2 separate regions of the Homo sapiens genome follow, and region 1 is linked to region 2. The links are contacts of gene promoters, found by promoter capture Hi-C in blood cells and fetal thymus (Javierre and others, 2016). All regions are on one chromosome and are shown on one strand. Each heading gives the region's core, a stretch centred on a gene start or on the middle of the fragment in contact. The rest is flanking DNA. Distances are from core to core; before and after follow the strand shown. Region 1 overlaps FRS2 (fibroblast growth factor receptor substrate 2). Region 2 holds the start of SLC35E3 (solute carrier family 35 member E3).

What was found. Contacts are between HindIII fragments. The CHiCAGO score rates a contact against its expected background, and 5 or more counts as called.
Region 1: a fragment that was not itself captured here is called in contact with the fragment with the promoter of SLC35E3 in region 2 in 1 of 17 cell types (monocytes); the score reaches 5.4 in monocytes.

Annotation. Positions count from the first base shown.
Region 1 is chr12:69,576,631-69,583,889 of GRCh38, forward strand. FRS2 (fibroblast growth factor receptor substrate 2) reads left to right here. Exons shown (of 9, transcript NM_001278356.2): 9 at 1-3,163. Among named protein-coding and RNA genes, the nearest start is that of MIR3913-2, 4.5 kb to the right of the region's middle. The HindIII fragment of the contact is 3,759 bases long and covers 3,530-7,259 here.
Region 2 is chr12:68,742,169-68,749,575 of GRCh38, forward strand. It overlaps SLC35E3 (solute carrier family 35 member E3), which reads left to right and starts at 4,008. Exons shown (of 5, transcript NM_018656.5): 1 at 4,008-4,611; 2 at 5,762-5,872. The coding sequence starts at 4,210. NUP107 (nucleoporin 107) reads left to right here. Exons shown (of 28, transcript NM_020401.4): 28 at 187-3,641. The coding sequence ends at 294. RefSeq lists enhancers at 3,681-4,371, 4,221-4,320, 4,371-4,480, 4,841-5,030. The HindIII fragment of the contact is 13,773 bases long and covers 1-7,407 here.

The sequences.
Region 1 (7,259 bases), core at 4,159-6,658, 840 kb after region 2:
AATCATAGGACAATGATGGATTAGGAGAACAATAGAGTGGGATCATTATAAAGAAAATAAATTATTAAAGGTGTCTTTATCGTTTTAGTGCCATTTTTAGTGTCTTTACTATAAATCAATATCAGTGTATTTTATCATTCTATGTGCATAGCAGAATTTTCTTTTCTCCCTTTTGTTCCCCTGTGAACTTGGTGCTTATTAAAGTGCTCACTGTTCTCTTAAAAGAGAGCAGTGGTATAGGTGTGCAGTTTCCATGATGCAGGTTCCATTTTTAATATATTGTTCCACTTATCCTTTCTTCTGAGTAAATTGCTAATTGTGCCAAATTTATGTAATAGTTTTTGTAATGTGGAATAAGAATTATGATGGAACCATTGCACATTTTTTTCTGAAACAGCCAGTCAAGGCAGAACATTAATCTCCAAATGCAAGGGCTGATCTATTTATTCATTTTGGAGGTTGGGTACTTTATTCTTTCTTTCCGTCATCCTTTTCATTGTTTCCCCCGGATTCTAATTAGTTTTTATTTTTTTTAGATAACTCCAATATAATCATTACAGTTTATGCTTTAAATACTATGTGCTTTAAAAAGGAAAATGGGACCAATTTGTCTGCTAAGAATTTGATTTTAGGTACTATAAGAGTATTAGGAAAATATATACAACTGGTGTTAATTTCTAGATATTTTCTAGAAATCACTTGTGTTCCTATTTAATAAAAGGTAATTTAGAATACTACTTGTCCTTTGCAGTAGTTTAGTAATGGGCATTAAGCTGTGTCCTCGAAGGATGTACCTATTACTAGGTGCATTTTAGAATGAAATATTGATATTTTATTAGCATATAATTGTGGCCATATATCTCAGATTTTCTGAGGCAGATCTAATTTTAGATAATTCTGTTGGTAGACCATGTGATCCTTCTTTTTGGTTTTGGAAATATAATCATTGTTAATGTTTTCCCTCCAAATAGAATACTGTTTTATCCATACAAATCATAACAGCATCTATCCCATGCTAGGGTTGGAAACTGATATTGGTATTACTTGTGTTTTTTCTTAGTGTGTTTTATTTCCCAGTTTCATCTTCTTCTAAAAATGAAAATATGGTGCCTTCCCTCCCTCCAGGAAGACTGGCAAATATTTCCTTTTATTTACTGCTGCTGTGGAGTGATGAGATATGCACTTTACTCTTTAAGATTCAGCAAAAAGCTTTTCACTTCTCAGTATATCCAGAATACATCATATCTGGGACTTAGGAAAATTTGCCAAGCAATCTTTGTTTTTATAGATACTAATGTTGACCCTCTCCAGCGTTCAATGTTATAAATAGAACAAGTCAAGCTAGTGTTTATCTCCTCCCCCTCCCCAAAACTGTGGCACAGCATATAAAAATGTACCTCAATAATGTTCTATTAAAAATGGGACAGGGGCCTTATGTTTTCATAATTTCCCAACAATGTGCCGCCATATTTTTGCCTCAAGGTAAAGGTTTTAACAGATGAAAAAGTACTTCCCAATTCCCCCGTGCTATTCCTAACCTATAATGCCCAAATGTTTTGTGCAATGTGTAGTGTGTGTGTATAAATACATATATTCTTGAAATAGACATACCATCAGAGACATCATTCACAAGTAACTGATGTATTGGCATCTCATTCATATTTCTGATGTGTGAGGTATATGGTACTAATTACCTTTTCCTTGATGTTTGCCAAATTTGAATAAAGGCATTGGTACGAAATTACAGAATGTAAAGAAAATGTTTTTGGCTTGAAAAATTAACATATTTTATGACGTACCACAGTATACTCTGCCCAAACCAGCACCCTATCTATCTTTCCTGTTCTTTACATCCCTGTTCCCCATCCCTACTTCCTCATTTTTGGTATAACACAGTTCTTTTGTAGCATCATTATAATTGCAGTTCTATGGCAATTGGACAGTTATAGCATGGAAACAGACTGGTATAAGTAGTACAGTAGTCACCAGTGTGCCACATTTGCATTAGTAATGCAAAATATACATTTTATAAAGGACAAACTTTGTGTTATGTTTTATTTTCATTACATTGTATAATATTGTAAGACTATTGTATGTCCTAATTTGCATTATAAATGTTTTTTTCCTACGTAAAGGCATAAATATAGCAACTTTGTATAAAGGTAGCTTATTAGATTTTTAATTTTTTCTTTTATAAAAAATTGTCCAACAGTGGGACTACCATTGCCAAATTGTATATGAAATATGAATTTTACCCCCATGGTTAATTTCTTTTATAAACATTCCATATTTCTCTAATAAAAAGACATAAGTGATACTGTACTATGCATACATTGTATCTTAATGCTGTTTCAGATCAGCATTTTAAATTTTGGTTTGCATTTTTAATATTGGCAAAACGTAACCACTGTTAATTAAAATAAAACCTTGTTGTATATGTAACAACATAATTTTCCCTCTATCCCTTCCCACCCTTTGTTCTCTATTTCTCCCTATCAGTGCCAACTTCATACATTTTGTAGCATGGCAATAAAATATAACTTTTACACTGAGGCCGAGTGTGGCTTTTTGGAGGAAGTGGGGATGGGACGATTGCCCTCTAGTTGTCCTTTGCATATGACTGTTTTTTGCCATATAAGCCATGTCATCAGGCATGAAAAGTTTTCTCATATATGATGTAAACTTGCTTTTAAGGACAAGTGTGAATGTGCTTTTTAAGCTTAATTTTTGTCATGACAACTAATTTTTTTTATCTTTGGAGAAGTCAGAGTTCTTTACAATCAAACGTTTATTAACTGGAGTACTTAGAATAAGCTAGTAATTGAATTTAGTTCAAGGGCTAAGCAACACATTTTTAAATCCTTATTTATTGTAGAGTATTAGTATACTGTCCTACAAATTATGTAAAATATGGTTTAATATTAGATGACTTTGGATTTTGCAATGCCTTACTGTTGTCATTCTAGCATAAATATCCATAATGAGGTACTCAAGTTGATACTGGAAGCTGAGCTGATCATACACTGACCTGAAGCATTCATGAAAAGCTGCTTTATTGAATAAAGTCTGATTGGAGTTCTTTTCATGCTCACTTTCCCCTTATTGCTGAAAGTAGATTGCAATAAAACCCCAATAAAACGTTTGGTCGGATATCTACTTAAAAGTTTTATTGTATTTATATTTCACATACTACTTGAAACTTTGTGACATTTTCTTTCCTAGTCTCATATCACTGCCTCCATTTTCAAAATGAAGATATCAAAATGAAATTGTAACTATATGACAGGCTTTCTCACAGTTTTAGCTGTGTGATCATTCCAAATAGTAGTTCTCAGCTCTGGGACTTCAAACCTGTTTTTAGCCACTGAGTGACATTGCAAAGCCTTAGTTGAGTACAGGTCAAGATGGAAATTATTTAAACAATGAAGGAGATGGACATGTCCACAAGTGATTGATGTAACTGGCATGATAAAGACACACACAAAGGAAGGGCATCCAACTCAGCCTAGGGGTGGAGGTTTTCAAGCAAAGCTTCTTAGAGGGGGTGATCCCTGAGGTGGTTTGTTGAAAGTCTTTGTAGCTTAGAGAGGATGTCTTAGGGAGAAGGGATAGCATGTGCAAAGGCACAGAGGTATAGAAAGATCATGACATTCAGTGGTTGCAAGAGGTTCCAAATGACTAAGCGCATGGAGAGCAAAGGCAGGGTTGGGGGATACAGAAGAAAGGAGAAATGAGAAACAGATCACAGAATCCTAAGGAGCTTTTGTTTAAATTAGGTGAGAGAACTTGAAGGATTTTAAACACCAGAAAAATAATAGTTTAGAAAGATTTCTCTGACAACATGGATACGTGAAGGGCGCAGTATTTTTTTTTTTTTTTTTTTTTTTTTTTTTGAGACGGAGTCTCTCCCTGTTGCCCAGGCTGGATGGAGTGCAGTGGCGCCATCTCGGCTCACTGCAAGCTCCCCCTCCCAGGTTCATGCCATTCTCCTGGCTCTGCCTCCCAAGTAGCTGGCCCTACGGTATTTTAATAAAGCAGGGAGACTGGTTGAGAGGCTTTTTCAGAAATGGAGCCAGATCTGATAAATCCGTATTCAAAGGCATTGTTAAAGGACTGTTTAGATTGTTTACTGCTGTGCAACAAACCACCCTAAAAGTTAGTGGCTTAAAGCAGCAATCATTTAATGTCTCAAGTTGCTATAGATCGAGATGGGCAGGGCACAGCAGAGATGGCTCATCTCACATGATGTCTGGAGGCCTGGCTTCCTCATATGCTTTGTGCCTATGCTAGTATGATTCAAGCAGCTGAGGGCTGGCTGGACCAGTTCCACTAGGTTATGTCTGGAACTTAAAGCTCTCAGCTGTGTTCCTTAGTTTTCTTCCATGAAGTCTTGGGTCTTTCTTCATGTGGTCTTCTTACATGGCAGCTTAGGGTTCCCAAGAGCACAAAAGTAGATGCTGCTAGGCTTTCTTGAGGCCTAAGCCCAGAACTGGCACAATGTCAATTCTGTTGTATTTTGTTGAATTACAGTGGCTCATATAAAAGCATGAACATCAAAAGTGTAGTTTATTCAGGGCCACCAATGTAATAGAGGGCCTAAAGGAGGAAGAATTAACACCTCTGATTGATAAGGGGAATGACAGAAATGGAGGGGTCAAGGATGACCCCCAGTTATCTGGTTTGGGTGACTGAGATGGTTGATGGTGTCAGTTCATTGAGATTTAAGATATATTTGGGGGCTGGGCATGGTGGCTCATGCCCGTAATCCCAGCACTTTGGGAGGCTGTGGAGGGTGGATCACTTCAGCCCAGAAGTTTGAGACCAGCCTGGGCAACATGGTGAAAACCTGTTTCTATGAAAAAATACAAAAATCAACTGGCGTGGTGGTGTGTGCTTGTAGTCCCAGCTACTCAAGAGACTGAGGCAGGAGGATAGATTAAGCCTGGGAGGTTGAGGCTGCAATGAACTGTGATCCTGCCACTGTGGTCCAGCCTGGGCAACATAATGAGACCCTGTTTTTTTTTTTTTTAAAGTGCTCCTCTAAGTGTGCTCCACAGACTGATTCCTGTGTACAAACTATCACGGTCTGCAACAGGAGAAATATCAAGTCTTCTAACCTTCTCCCTACTACCCAAACAGTAGGTGTCTGGGTGGACCCAACTTAATGTGACTGTGGACTCCTGGTCCTTTATTTGGTTTCCTTCCCCAGGTATTCTAACTGTTCCTGAGGAATGTTGACAAGTCCCATAACTCTGTTCTGGTGGTTGTTTGCCACTTCGCCAGTTATTTCACTCCAGTTAATGAATCTACCCTTGCTCCCAAATCACCTCTAGCCATCAAATAATGATATGCTACAGTGCTTTCCTACTTCCATAACATGCCAAGCATATCCAACCTCGGCTACTATATTTATAAAGCCTATTAGAAGACTTGGGATATAATGATAACAATAGCTAAGCTAAACAGGCACTGTTCTAAGCTATTTAATCTGTGATAATTATCTCCATTTTACACAAAGGGAAATTGAGGCACAGAGAGATTATATAACTGGAAGCTGACCAGTTAACAAAAAGCCAATTCACTGAAAGCCAAATTATACCAAGGGGAAGAGAGAGGAGGACACAGGGTCATAGAGAGGAGAGGGTCACAAAGACTTTGAGGGAGGAGGAAGGGTTAACTAAGAGAAGCCAAGACCAAGGGACTTGAGAGTAGAGGACAGAAGATGAGCCAGGAGAAAGTCACACAACGTGTTTAATCACAGAAACATGGATTCCCAAGGTCTCACTATCTCCATAGGCCCTGTAACCTATCTAATACAAATTACGATAAAATGTATAAATAGATGGGCACAGTGGCTTCTGCCTGTAATTCCAGCACTTTGGGAGGCCAAGGTGGGCAGATCGCATGAATTCAGGAGTTCAAGACCAGCCTGAGAAACATGGCAAAATCCCGTCTCCACCAAAAATACAAAAAATTAGCTGGTGTGGTGGCGCATGCCTGTATTTCCAGCTACTCGGGAGACAGGTCGGAGGATCGCTTGAAGTCAGGAGGCAGAGGTTGCAGTGAGTGGAGATCACACCACTGCACTCCTGCCTGGGTGACAGAGTAAGACCCTGTCTCAATTAAAAAATATATATATAGGTGTGGTGGCTCATGCCTGTAATCCCAGCACTTTGGGAGACTGAGGTGGGCAGATTGCTTGAGGTCAGAAGTTCGAGACCACCCTGGCCAACATGGTTAAACCCTGTCTCTACTAAAAATACAAAAATTAGCCAGCTGTGGTGGTGCATGCCTGTAGTCCCAGCTATTTGGGAGGCTGAGGCAGGAGAATTGCTTGAACCCGGGAGGCGGAGGTTGCAGTGAGTTGAGATCATACCACTGCACTCCAGCCCGAGCGACAGAGTGAAACTCTGTTTCAACAACAACAACAACAACAAAAAAGTATAAACAGCTAAAAGAGACAGTTTTTGGTAAACCAGCACATTGATCACGCTCTGAATGGCCTTCAATGAACTGATTTAAAGAGCCTGTGAAACCCACCCAAGACTACAAAGCTAGTACGTAAAATGGTTGAAATTCAAACTCATATAGTCTGGGTCTAGAAGCTGAGTGTTTAGCCTCTAGGTGTAGAGGTGTCATCAAAGGAGGGGGAAGTAGGAAAGAAGGAAGGGTCAAAAGATGCAATGGAGAAAGGACACATTTCCAAGGGTCCCATCATAGAGTCTCTTCCTGGCTGCCTCTAGCCTCAGTTCCACAAGGTGGCAGGGCCTGCCTCCTTCTCCCCATCCAAATGCCTCTGGCTACATTCAAAGCCCAGCAGGGAGCAGTCATTGGTTTCCCCATCACACACAGTCTCAGGCTTGCCTACCAGAGGACATAATAAATATCTCCAGGTATGTAATTTTGCCCACAATAAAAACAACCTTTTTCAATATTGTGCAGGCATCTTAGTTTTTTATTGTGAATCTTCTCATTCCAGAATGCGATTTGGGATCTGCCTAGGAAAGTACATTTCCTGAAAGAAGACCAAATTTTCCTACAAAGAAGAGAAAACTCTTGGGAGATTTAAAATAACAATTTGTCCAGCCTGAACTCCCCTTTTCATGTTGGACCTGAGGAATACTGTAAACCAGGGTCAGCAAACTTTTTCTGTAAAGAATTAGATAATACATGTTTTAGGTTTTGTGGGCCCATTCAACCTGTCATGACTACTCAACTCTGCCACATAACTCTGCTATCGTATTGTGACAGAGTAAATA
Region 2 (7,407 bases), core at 2,758-5,257:
TATATAGACTGACTCTGAGAATTCACCTTGAAATTCCTGAACCACTCTAATTTACTAGGCTCTGGCTACATAAATCTTAAAGAGGCATTTCTTCTTATATGAAGCTAATCAGATCGATTAGGTAACTAAGTTCATACTTGTCTACTTGTCTTTGTTCTCATTCTTATTTCTCTTTTTAAAAATCAGGTATTTTCTAAGGAAGAGCTAAGGAAGTTGCTGCAGAAGCTCAGAGAGTCCTCTCTAATGCTCCTAGACCAGGGACTTGACCCATTAGGGTATGAAATTCAGTTATAGTTTAATCTTTGTAATCTCACTAATTTTCATGATAAATGAAGTTTTTAATAAAATATACTTGTTATTAGTAATTTTTTCTTTTGCATTACCATGTAAAATTTAGACATTTGAATTTTGTACTTTTCAGAATATTATCGTGACACTTTCAACATGTAGGGATATCAGCGTTTCTCTGTGTGCTTGTTAATAAAACTATATAAAAATTAAAATTTTCTGTTTTTACAAATTCCAGGGTTGTCTCTTTTTCATGTAATAAGAAAATTAAATTTTCTGTTCTAGTTTTTTCTGTAATCATAAGCATTCTGATATTTTAAAATCATAAAGATGATGGAAAGTAGATTTATTTTTAAGCCAGGTACGTAATTTTTTATTTATCATAAAATTTAGTATTTTTGAATATTAAAATTAAGAAGATGACTATAACAAGAATTTTTCTAACATAACATGCTATTATTATTTTAGTTATTTTGAAGACATTTCTAGTTTAACTTTCATTTAGCAAACTTCCTATCAAAATAAGAGCATATAAAGACTTAGCGTAGTACCTGGCACACAGTAAGCACTGAATATATTGGAGATTACAGATCCCGCTCTTCTAATAGGGGAAATACCATAAGTACATTTAAAAGGTGTCATTTAAAAATACAAGTAGTGGCTGGGTGCAGTGGCTCACGTCTGTAACCCCAGCACTTCGGGAGGCCGAGGCAGGTGGATCACCTGTCGTCAGGAGTTTGAGACCAGCCTGGCCAACATGGTGAAACCCTGTCTCTACTAAAAAAATACAAAAATTAGCCGGGCATGGTGGCAGGTGCCTGTAATCCCAGCTACTCAGGGGAGGCTGAGGCATGAGAATCTCTTGAACCTGGAAGGCAGAGGTTGCAGTGAGCCGAGATCACGCCACTGCACTCCAGCCTTGGGGACAGAGCGAGACACTGTCTCCAAAAAAAGAAAGAATTACAAGTAGTCTGAGCAGGAAGAACCTCTCTCCAGCTGAAAAGACTCTCAGGAAGTAGTATTGGTTTGGGGTTTGAGTAATGCACTGAATTTGCAAAGGCAAAGAGTGACACAAGAAGGATGAGGCTCTATAGATTAAGAAATCAGTATGAGCAAGAAATGATAAATGCTGGGCATTATTATGAACCAACAAATACACCAAATAGGCTAGAGTGTAGGGCTTATAAACAGGAGACAACTAAAAGAATGTGATTCTAATAGAAAACAGTAATTCCCCAAACTTGCTAATCATCTAAGGAATTTCTTGAATATGTATTTATAGATGCCACCCCTAGAGACAGCTGGCTTGGGAAGCCTGAGATGGGATCATAGAATTTGATCAGTTCTATATTATGTGCTTTTTTTGTTTTATTTCTCTAAAGAATTCATCTTGTCTTCCTGTTTTCTTTATTCTTACTAATATGCAAATGATTTTTACAGCTCATGCAGTCCTGTAATCATGATTATTGCTATGCTACTTTGCAAAAAATAAAAACAAAAAATTCATACCAAAACAAATACAGACTAGATTTGGGGTGGGGAGGGGAAATAAGTGAGTCTTAAAAGTAGTTTTGTTACTTGCAACAAACTGTATATATAGAAACTTTGTACAACCCAGGGTGACTATTTCCAAAGACTGTTACCTATTTGTTGAACAACAGTGGGAAAACTACTTAGCCTAAATGAGGAGGAGGAATATTGTATGCTTCCATCGTAACCGTATGTGGGTAAATGGACAAGGTCTGTCATCTATTTAGGAACTTGTTTTGCATGTCCCCCACTCTGTATTTGTCTTTTGTTGTGCCTTGTTTTTTGAATGTCCTTTAAAAAACACAGCACAGAAACCCACTAAGGTTGTGGAATTACAAAATTCCTTCAACCTTAGACTCTTAATTAGGATGCCCTCAAATGGACTTGTTTTTAATTTTTATTTATTTATTTATTTTTGAGACATGGTCTTGCTCTGTCTCCCAGGCCGGAGTGCAGTGGCATGATATCTCACTGCAAACCTCCGCCTCCTGGGTTCAAGCGATTCTCCTGCCTCAGCCTCCCTAGTAGCTGGGATTACAGGCGCCTGCCACCACGCCTGGCTAATTTTTGTATTTTTAGTAGAGACGGGGTTTTGCCATGTTGGCCAGGCTGGTCTCAAACTCTTGACCTCAAGTGATCCACTCGCCTCGATCTCTCAAAGTGCTGGGATTACAGGCATAAGCCACTGCACCCAGCCAATTGGACTCCTTTGAGTCCTTAGGGAGTCAATGTGTGTGTTGCTGCTTATTTAAATACAGTTCAGTTGGAGCCCCAAGAGTGCCAATGTGCTCCTCACAATTCCCAAATGCCTCTCTTCCTGAACACCAGAAGTGGTGGGCACCTGAGTGGGAAATTTCAGGCAACTTAATTTAGTTCCTCAGTGCCTACTCTTGAAGAACTGGGTTTTCATTCTAGAGAGGAAACTCAGGGAAGGGCGTGTTGCCTATCACAGGTTCGCATACTAAGTTTTAAAAACTTTTCTTGGTGTGACTTATGCCAAGGAATTATGAAGACTTTTTCCTTGAGCATTGCATGAAGGCTACAAAGTTGGAACAGGCATGTCCTGGGTGTGAAAGTTTTAATTTCCCTACCTCATTTATTTATTTAATTTAGAGATGGGGGTCTCACTATGTTGCCCATCCCGGCTTCCAACTCCTGGGCTCAAGCAATCCTCCCACGTCAGTCTCTCAAATAGCTGGGACTACAGGCCCACGCCACCATGCCCTACTTCCTCATTTATTTTAAATTTTTTGTACCACAGTCTCTCTTTTTAATTTTATGACTGCTGAATTAATCCTAGACTCTGTCTTAAAACTAAGAATTGATGTATTGGCAGGAACAGCTGGACATTCAAGATGTTTTTGTGATTCCTTTTTTAAAAATCTCCTTTTGTACCTGTAATATCTACAATATATAATCTTTCTTTATCGACTTAAGGAGGAAGGAGAAAGGAAGAACCTGACTTCTGTGTGAAGGACCTTACTGTCGATCAAGACTGTTACTCAAAGTTCTATCTCTTAGTCATTGCACCTGACCTGATCCAAAACATATATATATATTTGTATGCACCCCTAGAGACAGCTGTATATATATACGGTTTTGCCAGGTTGTACGTTTTTTTCTCGAGTTGTAAGTGAACACAGTAGCACTCGTTTACATTGTCAAGGGGACATCTTTAGAGAACACATTTTCTCACTGTTGAGCTAATAATGCTTTGTGAATGTATGATCTAAGGAGAAACCCTTGTAGTTATACCCGATGATGCTGTCTGTTGGAAAGTAAATTTTGAATGTCTTTTTCCAAAAATAAAAAATAAAAACATGCTTTCAATAAGTTCTTTCCCCCCTCTGGCGAGGGCTACTAAATTTGCTCAGCATTTAATACGTAAAATTGGCTAACAGTGTCTGCACAGCCAGAGAGAAGTTGTCTAGCAAATCGGGTCAATGACACACAGGAAACAAACATCAAGAAAGGGGTCCTAGATTGGTCCAGTCAGGTAGGCGTTAGGTGACCAAGGGGGTCGGGGACCCAGAGGATAGGACCCAAAGACGCAAGCGTCGCGCGCCCAAGGCTCAGCGCGCCTGCGCAGGGTAGCGGCCGTTCAGCCAGCGGCTCGGGGGCGGAAGCACTGGAGCCCCGAGTCACGTGGCTGCGGGCGGAGATGAGCGGGGCGTGGGACGTGCTGCGGCGTCCTAGCTGGCTTACAGGGCGGCGGCGGGGTGTGTGTCCTCTGTTAAGAGTGCTACTCGCCCGGGGTTGATCTGTGCATGCCACTCCTGGGTCAGACGGTGAGGTCGGCGTCTGCGAGGACGCGGCGGTGGAGTAGAAGGGCAGCCGGAGACAGGCCCGGCGCCCCTTCCGAGGCTAGACGGCCCCAGCTTCGCGGGGATCATGGCATTGCTGGTGGACCGAGTGCGGGGCCACTGGCGAATCGCCGCCGGGCTCCTGTTCAACCTGCTGGTGTCCATCTGCATTGTGTTCCTCAACAAATGGATTTATGTGTACCACGGCTTCCCCAACATGAGCCTGACCCTGGTGCACTTCGTGGTCACCTGGCTGGGCTTGTATATCTGCCAGAAGCTGGACATCTTTGCCCCCAAAAGTCTGCCGCCCTCCAGGCTCCTCCTCCTGGCCCTCAGCTTCTGTGGCTTTGTGGTCTTCACTAACCTTTCTCTGCAGAACAACACCATAGGCACCTATCAGCTGGCCAAGGCCATGACCACGCCGGTGATCATAGCCATCCAGACCTTCTGCTACCAGAAAACCTTCTCCACCAGAATCCAGCTCACGCTGGTGAGTAGCTTCAGCTTCCCAAGGCGCCGCTCTCCCGACCCACCTCCTGCACTGGCCCCGGGAAATTCGAACGCACACTGGTCTTTCCCTTCATCTTGAAATCCACAAATGAGTCATCTGTGGGCATGTGAACTTTTAGGCTTATTTTAGGGAGGGGGAAAAGGCCATCTTGTCAGCCCAGAAGAGTGGGCATGTGTGAATTTTAGTAGCTGCCATTTGATGGAAATCGTTAAATGCTGTGATCGATAAGAAAAAAAGCTGTATTGGGTGGTACAGTCCAGTGTTATCAGAATATCTGCAAAAGCTCAAACAAAAACAGCCTTTCTCCCCCAGGGGAATCAAATCGTGTATGATAAAACGTGAAAAGATGTAGCATAAAGTAGGTCTCAAAACGTCTGCAGCACCATACTTTAGAGCTGTCTGCATCTTTAAATAAAAGGAGGTGGACTCAATTTTAGCACTTAGTAACTTATTTAAGGTCTTTTTCTTTTTTTTTTTTTTCTTTTTGAGACGGAATTTCACTCTTGTTGCCCAGGCTGGAGTGCAATGGCACGATCTCGGCTCACCGCAACCTCCGCCTCCCGGGTTTAAGCGATTCTCCTGCCTCAGCCTCCCGAGTAGCTGGGATTACAGGCATGCGCCACCACGCCCGGCTAATTTTGTATTTTTAGTAAAGACGGGGTTTCTCCATGTTAATCAGGCTGGTCTCGAACTCTGACCTCAGGTGATCTGCCCGCCTTGGCCTCCGAAAGCGCTGGGGTTACAGTGGTGAGCCACCGTGCCTGGCCTTATATTTAAGGTCTTTATGCTTTTATTGTTTTATATTTATGCTTATGCTGTTTAGACACTAGTTTGGGGATCCATTTACTCACCTTTGTATTCATGTGGTATTTTCTTGCAAAGTGCAATATATTTACCACAAATTTAGAATGGAATTAAATGTGAATATCAATATAGATTTGTCATATTTCACGTTTAGGAAATAGGATTAACAACTAGTTTTCCCAAGTCAAAACAGAAAACATTTATACAGGTTCATTGTTTCCCAGTTATGTGTTTATCATTAGCCTTGTAAGACATTGTGAAAGGAATACTAAATTTTTGTCTCTTGAATTTAATCTGAACAACATTTACCTCTTTTTCGTTACAGATTCCTATAACTTTAGGTGTAATCCTAAATTCTTATTACGATGTGAAGTTTAATTTCCTTGGAATGGTGTTTGCTGCTCTTGGTGTTTTAGTTACATCCCTTTATCAAGTGGTTGGTAATTTTTTTTTCTTTATGTGCCTTTTTAGCAGATTTCATAAATTTTGAAGCTGTATTCCAAGGTTTAGAAAATACAGTATAGAGACAATAGACTGTTGGGAAGAAAGCATAATTGCATAAGTTGTCTGACTCAAGGTGAAGAGAAGAAAGGAGACAGAGAAACTTGGGTGTGTGATGCTCACCAAATACCTACCTGTTTGTAAGTGTATAATATCCATGCTTAACAGTCTCAGCTTGGGGTGAAGTTATTTTCTGGGAAATCTTTACAAAATACCTAGTAAGACTTTTTACTTCCTAAGTTTGTTATGTTTTCTGTTTACTCTTTACTTTTAACATTGTTGTGAAGGAGTGAGTATACTTCCAGAAATCTGAACAGTAATGAAAAATTTCAGATTTTTAGATGTTTTTGCCTCAAAAATTATACTGCTGTTACAACTTGTTTATTGGCTTTTAATAATGTGTCTAATATAGATTATTACAATATTATACTCTATATTAATAAATATAGAGTAATTTATATTAATGAATATTTTTCCATTTGTGCAAGCGCAGTGCCTTGCCTATAGCAGATATTCATTAAAAATATGTTCATGGATTCACTTACTTCATTACCATAAAATCCTAACAAGTATGGTTTTTGATTCTTATTTAGTGGAGAAAAAATAACTTGCTGTAGGGGACAGTGAAACGGTATTCTCTCTATACTGAAAACCTTGGTCTGGAAATTCTGGGTGTGCCTGCATGGGGAATCAAAGCCAAAATGTGTAACCAATTTTATTTTTTTCACAAACATCCACTGGTTATTAAACTAAGGCATTCTTGTTTGAAATTTTAGGAGTTCAGTAATAGAGCCCTGGCATCTTAAACATTCTAGTAGTGATCATGTCAGAGACAGTATTTGAAAATATTCTGCAGTGAAATACATTTTCTAGTGGCAGAGAAGCAGTTTAAATAAAAGAAGAGGCTAGTGAACATTCCTATTCATCTTTCTTGTTAAATGCACTTGTTTTTGCCTAGTATAGGCAATTTATTAAACAGAGCAAGTAATTGTACTCCTTATACGTAATAGATTCAGAGTACTCACCATCTCTGTCACTATGACCATTTTTGTTCACACAAGTCTCAAAATTGCTATAGATTAGAATCAAAGGATTCTATATCCCTAAGGTAGATATTTGACATGAGATTGACCAAGGAATGATTGTAGATTAATGGACAGTTTCTTATCAGTAAGTGGTAAAGGTACCATTACAAAATAGGTATATTCCCAAAACATTCCTCTTAAAGAAAGTTGTATCTGCCCACAGTATCTTGGGATAATTTCTATGTTGTTTCTCTTATACTGCTGGAGACATTAAAAGGAGTTAAAAGACAAGTGACCAGCTATTAGCTTGAGTTGTAGAAAGATGGTTGACTCATTCATTCGTTCAGCAGACATCTTTTCTGCATTATGTTCACCCTTGAGGATACAAAGATGAAAAGCAGCTACAGTCCAGCAGTGTAGAAACACAAAGAGACAGCTGGTCACA